Linked DNA regions of Homo sapiens: all the other regions are linked to region 1. Evidence: promoter capture Hi-C in human tissues and cell types (Jung and others, 2019). All regions are on one chromosome and are shown on one strand. Each heading gives the region's core, a stretch centred on a gene start or on the middle of the fragment in contact. The rest is flanking DNA. Distances are from core to core; before and after follow the strand shown. Region 1 holds the start of HIP1R (huntingtin interacting protein 1 related). Region 2 overlaps PITPNM2 (phosphatidylinositol transfer protein membrane associated 2). Region 3 overlaps KNTC1 (kinetochore associated 1).

The links. Contacts are between HindIII fragments. The study calls those that stand out against the background at their distance.
Region 2: a fragment that was not itself captured here is called in contact with the fragment with the promoter of HIP1R in region 1 in 3 of the 25 tissues and cell types used here (H1 embryonic stem cells, dorsolateral prefrontal cortex and liver).
Region 3: a contact is called between a fragment that was not itself captured here and the fragment with the promoter of HIP1R in region 1, in 2 of the 25 tissues and cell types used here (IMR-90 fibroblasts and lymphoblastoid cells).

Annotation. Positions count from the first base shown.
Region 1 is chr12:122,834,200-122,836,717 of GRCh38, reverse strand. HIP1R (huntingtin interacting protein 1 related) reads right to left here and starts at 1,261. Exons shown (of 32, transcript NM_003959.3): 1 at 1,075-1,261. The coding sequence starts at 1,167. LOC124903040 (a long non-coding RNA gene) reads left to right here and starts at 1,485. Exons shown (of 2, transcript XR_007063501.1): 1 at 1,485-1,544; 2 at 1,880-2,163. RefSeq lists silencers at 750-949, 1,120-1,359 and an enhancer at 1,610-1,659. The HindIII fragment of the contact is 9,768 bases long and covers 1-2,518 here.
Region 2 is chr12:123,060,258-123,062,775 of GRCh38, reverse strand. The region is part of intron 2 of PITPNM2 (phosphatidylinositol transfer protein membrane associated 2); the gene reads left to right. Among named protein-coding and RNA genes, the nearest start is that of PITPNM2-AS1, 20 kb to the left of the region's middle. The HindIII fragment of the contact is 7,256 bases long and covers 1-2,518 here.
Region 3 is chr12:122,622,644-122,625,161 of GRCh38, reverse strand. KNTC1 (kinetochore associated 1) reads right to left here. Exons shown (of 64, transcript NM_014708.6): 63 at 474-564. Among named protein-coding and RNA genes, the nearest start is that of MIR9902-1, 72 kb to the left of the region's middle. The HindIII fragment of the contact is 3,781 bases long and covers 1-2,518 here.

The sequences.
Region 1 (2,518 bases), core at 12-2,511:
GCAAATAGCCGCCACAAACGCAAATGTCACCAACCTGCTTTAGACAGGAGTGGGAGGGGTCCTCTGGCTTCCTTTATCTCTAGAGTAAAATTTTTCAGCCATTTCAGTCTTGGTTGACTTATTTTGGCAAATAAACAAGTATGCCCCCCTCCACCGCCCATCCCCCAAGCCTGAGAGCACTTCAAGAGTTTGTAAAATAAAAAGCAACAGGAAACCAGAAACGCAGCAACGTCTGCATCGTGGGTCCCCGGCACAAACACAAGTACAAAACGCACACCCGCGCCCTTATTTCATTTCTAACGCCTTCCCAGGATAGGCATCATCTGGAAGAGTTACAAGCGTGGGAGGCGCAGGAAGGGAGCCCCAGGAAGTTTCTGTCTGTCGGGCGCCGGTATTTAATGAGGGGGTGTGCACCTATTTATACGTGGGCAGCGCTCGGGCAAACAAGTCTGGCGACATACGAGAAGCTTTTCACCCAGCAAATAATAGGAGACTGTGCAGCCCTGGGAAACCGCTCACGAGAGAAGGAAGCTGGGAGTTTAAGGAATTTCCTTTAAGGAAATTGCCCGTGGGGGCATCGGTTTCAGGGGGTAGGAGACGGGGGCAGGAGCCGGCAAGGAGCGGCACGGAAGGTCGGGGACCCCAGTCGGGCCGCGCCGGCCCCGGGAGCACCTGGATCCCCAGCCCCCTCGACCCCCGGCGCGCTGGGCTCGCGCACACCCAACCCCGGCCCCATCTCCGTCCCCCGCCGCCTCAGCTCCGGCGCTCCCGGCCCGCGCACACCCTGACCCCGGCCCCCTCAGCCCCGGCGCCTCTGGGCCCGAGCGCCCGGCGGGAGCGGGGAGCGCGGCTTCCGGTTCACCTGCGCGCCGGTCGGCTCGGGCCGCGGAGGCCGGCGGGGGGCGGCAGCGGAGCTCTCGGAGAGCCCGGGCGGACACAGGCCCTGCCCCCGCGCCGTCCCCCGCCCCTGGCCGGCGCCTCCCGGGCCCCAGCCGTTCGCGCGTGAGGGGTCAGGGACGCCGCTTGCCCGCCCGCCCGCCGCCGCCCGCCGCCCGCCGCCCGCCGCCCGCTCGCCTGGGTCTTGTCGAACTGCTCGCGCTCGGCCTCCAGGCTGTGGCCCGGCCTGCGGCTCAGCACCCGCGCCGGCACGTTCTTGATGCTGTTCATCCTGCCGCCGCCGCCCGCTTTTGTCCGGCTCCGTCCGCGCGACTCACAGCCTCACGGTCCGGCAGCCCCAGCCTAGGCACCGCGAGGCCACCGCGCCGCGCCCGGGCCCGCCCGCCGGGGAGGAGCCCGCCTCGCCCCGCCCCCAACTCCAGGGCACGCCCCTCCCCCGCACACCTCCAAACCCGCCCCCCGCGCCCGCAAACGCCTCGCCCGCCCCCAACTCCAGGGCGCGCCCCTCCACCCGCACACCTCCAACCCCACCCCCCGCGATCTCGGGACACGCGCCTCTCCCCGCACATCCCCAACCCCCCATCCCGCGGCGACCCCGGCACACGCCCCGCCCCCCGCACACCTCCAACCCCCACCTCACTCACAAGGTTGGGGCACAGGCCAAACGCCCCCCCAGCTCCTCCCCACCTCTAATCCCCTCCCTAAACCCGGAGGGGAGGGTAGGGGAAGGGGGAGGGGGAACCCCTCCCTCCTCCTTCCACCCAGGGTAGGGACCCCAGCCAATTCCCTCTCCCCACCCCTCCTCCGAACTCACTAAGTCTTGTCTGCACCAGGGCAAGATCTGGTTAATTGGAGAAAATCTGGCCTCCATGAGTCTGGTCGGTGGCAGCACAGATAGACGCTTTTTTTCCTTTTTGGTCTTAATGTATGTGTCAAAAGGCACACAATGACACTCTCCCCTCTTTGTGCAATTCTGACATAGCTGCAGCTGTTATCCATGCGGGGATGCAGGATGCATTTCCAGAGACGCCGCCGGCTCCGCAACCGGACACCTCGCCAGCTCCAGGGACAATGGGGGCTGAGGCCGGGCGCTGTTAGGCTGGCACAGAAGGCAGGCGGATCTGAACAGCAAAGTACACCGAGGAGATGCCGCCAGGGGTGGCGTGAGGCTTTTTAAAAACATTATTATTGGCTTTCCCTTAAAATTACTGGTCACAAGACTGAAGTAAAAAAATAAATAAAAGCCCAGAGTCCTCTCTAAGCGTAGCTCTCAGATGGGTATTGTGTTTCTGCTGTTTCCCTTTCCTATCGGAATGCAGATGTGGAATCATGCATAAAGGTCCCTTGCTTTTGAAGGGAGAGGCACCGCCTGCCTGTAAGGAGGAAAATGACGCCCACGTAATCCTGACCCTTGTCTCCCTAGTGAGACTGTAACCTGTCTGAGGTCAGAGACCCTTTCCTTTCCTTTCCTTTCCTTTCCTTTCCCTTTCCCTTTCCTTTCCTTCCTCCTTCTTTTCTTTCTTTTCTCTCTTTCTCTCTCTTCTTTCTTTCTCTTTCTTTCTTTCTTTTCTTTTCTTCTCTTTCTTTCTTTTCTTTTTTTTTAACCGAGCTTCACTCTTGT
Region 2 (2,518 bases), core at 14-2,513, 230 kb before region 1:
AAACCAGACACTTTTTTGTAACTCATTTGGCAGCAAAATTTTTCCTGAACTGAGGTGAGGCTATTTATAGTCCAAGTGAGGCTATTTATAGTCTTTATGTATTCTATATTCATGTCTTTCACTGCAGAGAGTTCAATGTATTTGTTTATTGGATGCTGCTGAGATATGCAGCTTTACCTGTCTAAAGTTCAGGATATTCTGAAATCCTAGATACATCTAGCCCCAAGAGCAAGAGTGCTGTACTTTTTTTTGCTGGTAAATAGCCTCTGCCCCTGCCCCGTCCCCCTTATTGTCCCTTCCCTGGGATTTCTGGAGCTAAGTGGGCAATGCTGTCCACAGGCACCTCCAGGATTCCCCCAGCCCCACAGCCAGCAGCAGTGCCCAGGGGTTAGATATTTTTAGTATTCCTGTGGGTGACAGAACACATCTTGGTTGCCAGGCATAGTGTTCTACCCCCTCACTGGACGTATTACCACCTCCCTTTACAGATGAGTAAACCAAGGCTCAGTTGCAAGTATCAGATCTAAGGACGGAGAGATGAGAAGTGCAGGCGCTGGACCCCAAACTTTCCCTTCCACCTGGCTGCCTGTCTGGGAGGGAGTCTGGGGACTCAGGAACCTGTCTCCCTGGATTTGTTGAAATGGGAAGCAGCAAGCATCAGGGTCCCAGGTGCACCGGAGGGGAGCAGACAGATGCAAGCCAGGCTGCTCTACTTGGCAGGGAGAAGGAGGAGGAGGAGCAGGGGCCCCTCAGTTGCTGCAGGGCCTCCCTAGGAACTTACCGCCTACCTCTACACCGTAGTTCCTGCTTCTCAGAGTCCCTTTGTTAGAACACCTGTGCCTTCCTCCGCACCCAACTCCATCTCTTCCCAGCAGCCAGCCCTCATAGCTGCTCCGGCTCTTGGGTCTTTCCTCCAGAACTCTCTGAAGCCACTGGCACATAGGGAGATGGCATAACTTTGTCCAAACTCTGTCGGCAGCTGTTCTTGGGGACCCTGCTAGCAGCCACCTTCTCCTACAACCTTCAGAAGCTCCCTTGGATGCAGGAGCTTTGTCAGGGCCTGAAAGCCCCAGGCTTCCCCCTTTTTCTGACTCCCCAGTGTACAAGTTCTTTCCCATTTCCTGTGAGACGCATCATCTTGTGATGACCAATGACTCCCACCATCCACCACATTGACCCTGGCTCAGAAGCCTTTGGTCTGAGAAGCTTCTTGCCCACTGGGACGCCTCCTATCCACCCTGCCCAAGCCATGCCTGACGTGCCATAGTGCAGTGAGAGGGCCTACTCTTGGACAGTGGAGAGATCTGGGACAGGGTTATGGCTGTAGTGGTTAACCATCCTTGGATTGTAGGCACGTCAGCAGACCTCTCCAGAGCTTGTTTCCTGTTTCCTCATCTGCAGAGTGGGCTTAGGGTTGGCTGCCCTCACAGAGCTGTTGATGAGGATTGGCCTTAGGGCAGGCATCCTGCATAGACCGTGCCTTGTCATGAGCCCTGTTACCCTTCCCCCATTCCACTAGCAGGGTCTTTCTTCCTGTATACCCATTAAGGGGTCAGAAAGTTTCCCAGAGCTGCCGTGAGTGTAAAGAAGTCAACTGTGACCCGTTGTGAAGACCTTTGGGTTTAGAGGCAGAGGCTCTGGGCTCTAGTCCCACCCCTGCCCTATGTAGATGATGGATGGATGCATGGGTGGATGGATGCATGGGTGGATGAATGCATGGGTGGATGGATCAGTGGATGCATGCATGAGTGAATGGCGCGGTAGCTACATGGGTAGATGGATAGGTGGATGCATGGGTGAAGGGATGCATGGGTAGATGCGAGTAGGGATGCATAGGTGGAAGGATGAGTAGATCAACTGTCTGCCCTTTTCTGGGCCTTAATTTTTCCATCTACCCAATGATAGGGTTGGATTGCAAGTTCTTCAGTTTCTGAGGTTTGTGACCCCACCTATGTCAACCTGGCACCCTTAAGGACTGCTGCCCCCTTAGGTGGTGACCTATAAGGAGGACCGTGCCTATACCCAGGGACCCTGGAACCCTCTCTGAGCTCCACCTTCCACCCTGCCTTGGGCCTTCCCAGCTCTGACTTGGTACCCTCCTTGCAGCCTCTGCGCTCCTCATCCCTTTCCAATAGGAGTGCAGTTTTCTTCTGGCTCTTTTGTTGACAGAATCGCTTGTTTATTTGTGGTGGGAGAGTCTGTATATCCTGTGTGCAGTCACTTCCCTCCAGGCCACTCTGCATTCATGCAGGATGAGCTGCTGAGTGAGCATTGGGTGGAAGTGTCAGGCGCTGGGGGCTTGGCAGAGGGACTGTCACAGGGTCAGGGTGGCTTTACTGCCAAGGTGGCTCTTGAGTTAGGTCAGGAGCTAGGTCAACTTAGTAGGTCAGAATTTCCCGGTGGAGGTGGAGACCCAGGTGATGGCACCCAGACGGGCTGGGTCCTCACGGGTGAGGGTGTCAGTTCACCAGCCTGTGCAAAGACTTCCAGTGCCAAGGCAAGGAGCTCAGGGTGCTTT
Region 3 (2,518 bases), core at 12-2,511, 210 kb after region 1:
AAGTGCTGGGATTACAGGTGTGAGCCACCGTGCCCAGCCATACTTCTTTTTTTTCTGCAGTGAATATACGTTTTAGGTAATTAAAGAATAATAATTAATTTAAAAAGCAATTAATACCCAAGCATGACAATAATCAACACCTTTTAGAATTCAGTTTTTCACCTGCTTCAATATTAAAAACACCACCTTATGAGGAATGGTAATGCTGGAAAGCACCTGAGAGACCATGGGGTCCAGATCTGAAGACTAAGCCCACATTAGGCTTTGCTGCCCAGTGGCAGGGCTGAGATTAGAACTGTGGTCTCTTGATTTCTAGTTTAGAACTCTCTAACACAAAAAGTAAAATATAAAAATTACAGTTACACATAAAAATACATTTATCTCCAGAACACTAGAAAAGGCTTGTCAATTTTAAGGCCCTAGGAATATAAACAATGTCAAGTTAGAACCTAAGAACTTTCCATCAGCTTTACCTTCAGAATTTCACAGGGAGCAGTGTCTGGAGGCACAGGTTTCCCGCAGTGCTTTGAATATTCAGTTATCAAGACTGAAGCTTCATCTAAACTACAAAATCAAAAAGAAAAAGAAGTGTTAGGCCAAGCACAGTGCCTTGTGCCTACAATCCCGGCACTCAGGGAGGCCAAGATGTACAGATGGCTTGGGTCCAGGAGTTTGAGACTAGCCTGGGCAACATGGCAAAGCCCTGTCTCTACAAAAAATATAAAATTAGCCAGGTGTGGTGTTGCACACTTGTAGTCCCAGCTACTCTGGAGACTGAGGTAGGAGGATCGCTTGAACCCAGGAGGTTGGGGCAGCAGTGAGCCACGTTTGTACCACTGCACTCCAGCCTGGGTGACAAAGCAAGACCCTATTTCAAAAAGAAAAGAAAAGAAAAGAAAAAGAGGCATTGAAGTCAAAATTAAAATGTAAAGACCAATCTCTGAATTTAATGTTTTATTTGGGAAGAAATAATTCCAATTTGGGGCATATACATAGACTGGGTAGTCTCTGGATTGTCCAAAGAACAAAGAGAAGGTTAGAGGTTTTATGAAAAAGAGACATGTTACACATTGTTCTTTTTTTTCTTTTTTGTGAGACAGAGTTTCACTCTTGTTGCACAGGCTGGAGTGCAATGGTGCGATCTCGGCTCACTGCAACCTCCACCTCCTGGGTTCAAGCGATTCTCCTGCCTTAGCCTCCCGAGTAGCTGGGATTACAGGCATGCGCCACCATGCTCGGCTAACTTTTTGTATTTTTAGTAGAGACAGGGTTTCATCATGTTGGCCAGGCTGGTCTTGAACTCCTAACCTCAGGTGATCCACCCGCCTCGGCCTCCCAAAGTGCTGGGATTACAGGAGTAAGCCACTGCGCCCGGCCAGAATTATGTTTTTGGAGCAATGTTTTGTACTCTGAGTGCTTTTCCCCTGGGCCCCTCGACTCTGATGAATTTGGGTATCACAAGAATGACCTAATTCATGTAATCAACTTCACAGAGGGCATGAGGAAACTTTCAGAGAATTATGTTCACTCTCTTGATTGTGGTGATGGCTTTATAGGTATACATATGTCAAAATTTACTAAATTGCAGACTTCAAGTATGTCCAGCTTATTATATGTATCAATTATAACTCAAAAAATACTTGCTCAAAAATGACAATATCTAATTATGGCTGGATCACAAGAGATAAACAAGCAGATGGAAATCCATGGAGTGGTAATGAGAAAGAAAGACCTCTCAAGCGCCAACATGGCTAGACCACATGCAGGGATGGATCTGGTGTGTACTGCGGTCTTGAACTTCCCTTTCTTTAGTGTCAGCCCACTTCTTCCTTCTCCCGTTCAGTTTCCATATCCACCCCCAGCTCTATCCCAAGAAGCTTATTGTTTCTAAACTTGTGGGTGCTGGAAAATTAGATAACCAGGTTTAACAAAAGTGATGCTACATAAAGTCATTAATGTTCTGAGCAAGTGTCTAGACATAAAATTGTAATGTAGGATTTAGAACAGGGCTGTGAGACACTTGATTTGGGGGTTCAGATGACCTGTTTAATTGTCAGATTCTAAGGTCATATTCCAAGAAATTGGGTTATTAAATGATTAACTTTTGGATATGTGCAGTAATGAGAGATGTAATATTTTGAGCTTTTAATTACAACCAAATAGCTCTACAGTTGACATTCTGCTCCAACATAAAGATAGATTTTTTTTTTTTTGAGACAGAGTTTCGCTCCTGTTGCCCAGGCTGGAGTGCAATGGTGCGATCTCGGCTCACTGCAACCTCTGCCTCCCGGGTTGAAGAGATTCTCCTGCCTTATCCTCCCTAGTAGCTGGGATTACAGGTATGTGCCACCATGCCCGGCTAATTTTGTATTTTTAGTAGAGACAGGGTTTCTCCATGTTGGTCAGGCTGGTTTTGAACTCTCAACCTCAGGTGATCCACCCACCTCAGCTTCCCAAAGTGCTAGGATTACAGTCGTGAGCCATCGTGCCCAGCTTATAAAGATAGATTTTAAGGAAA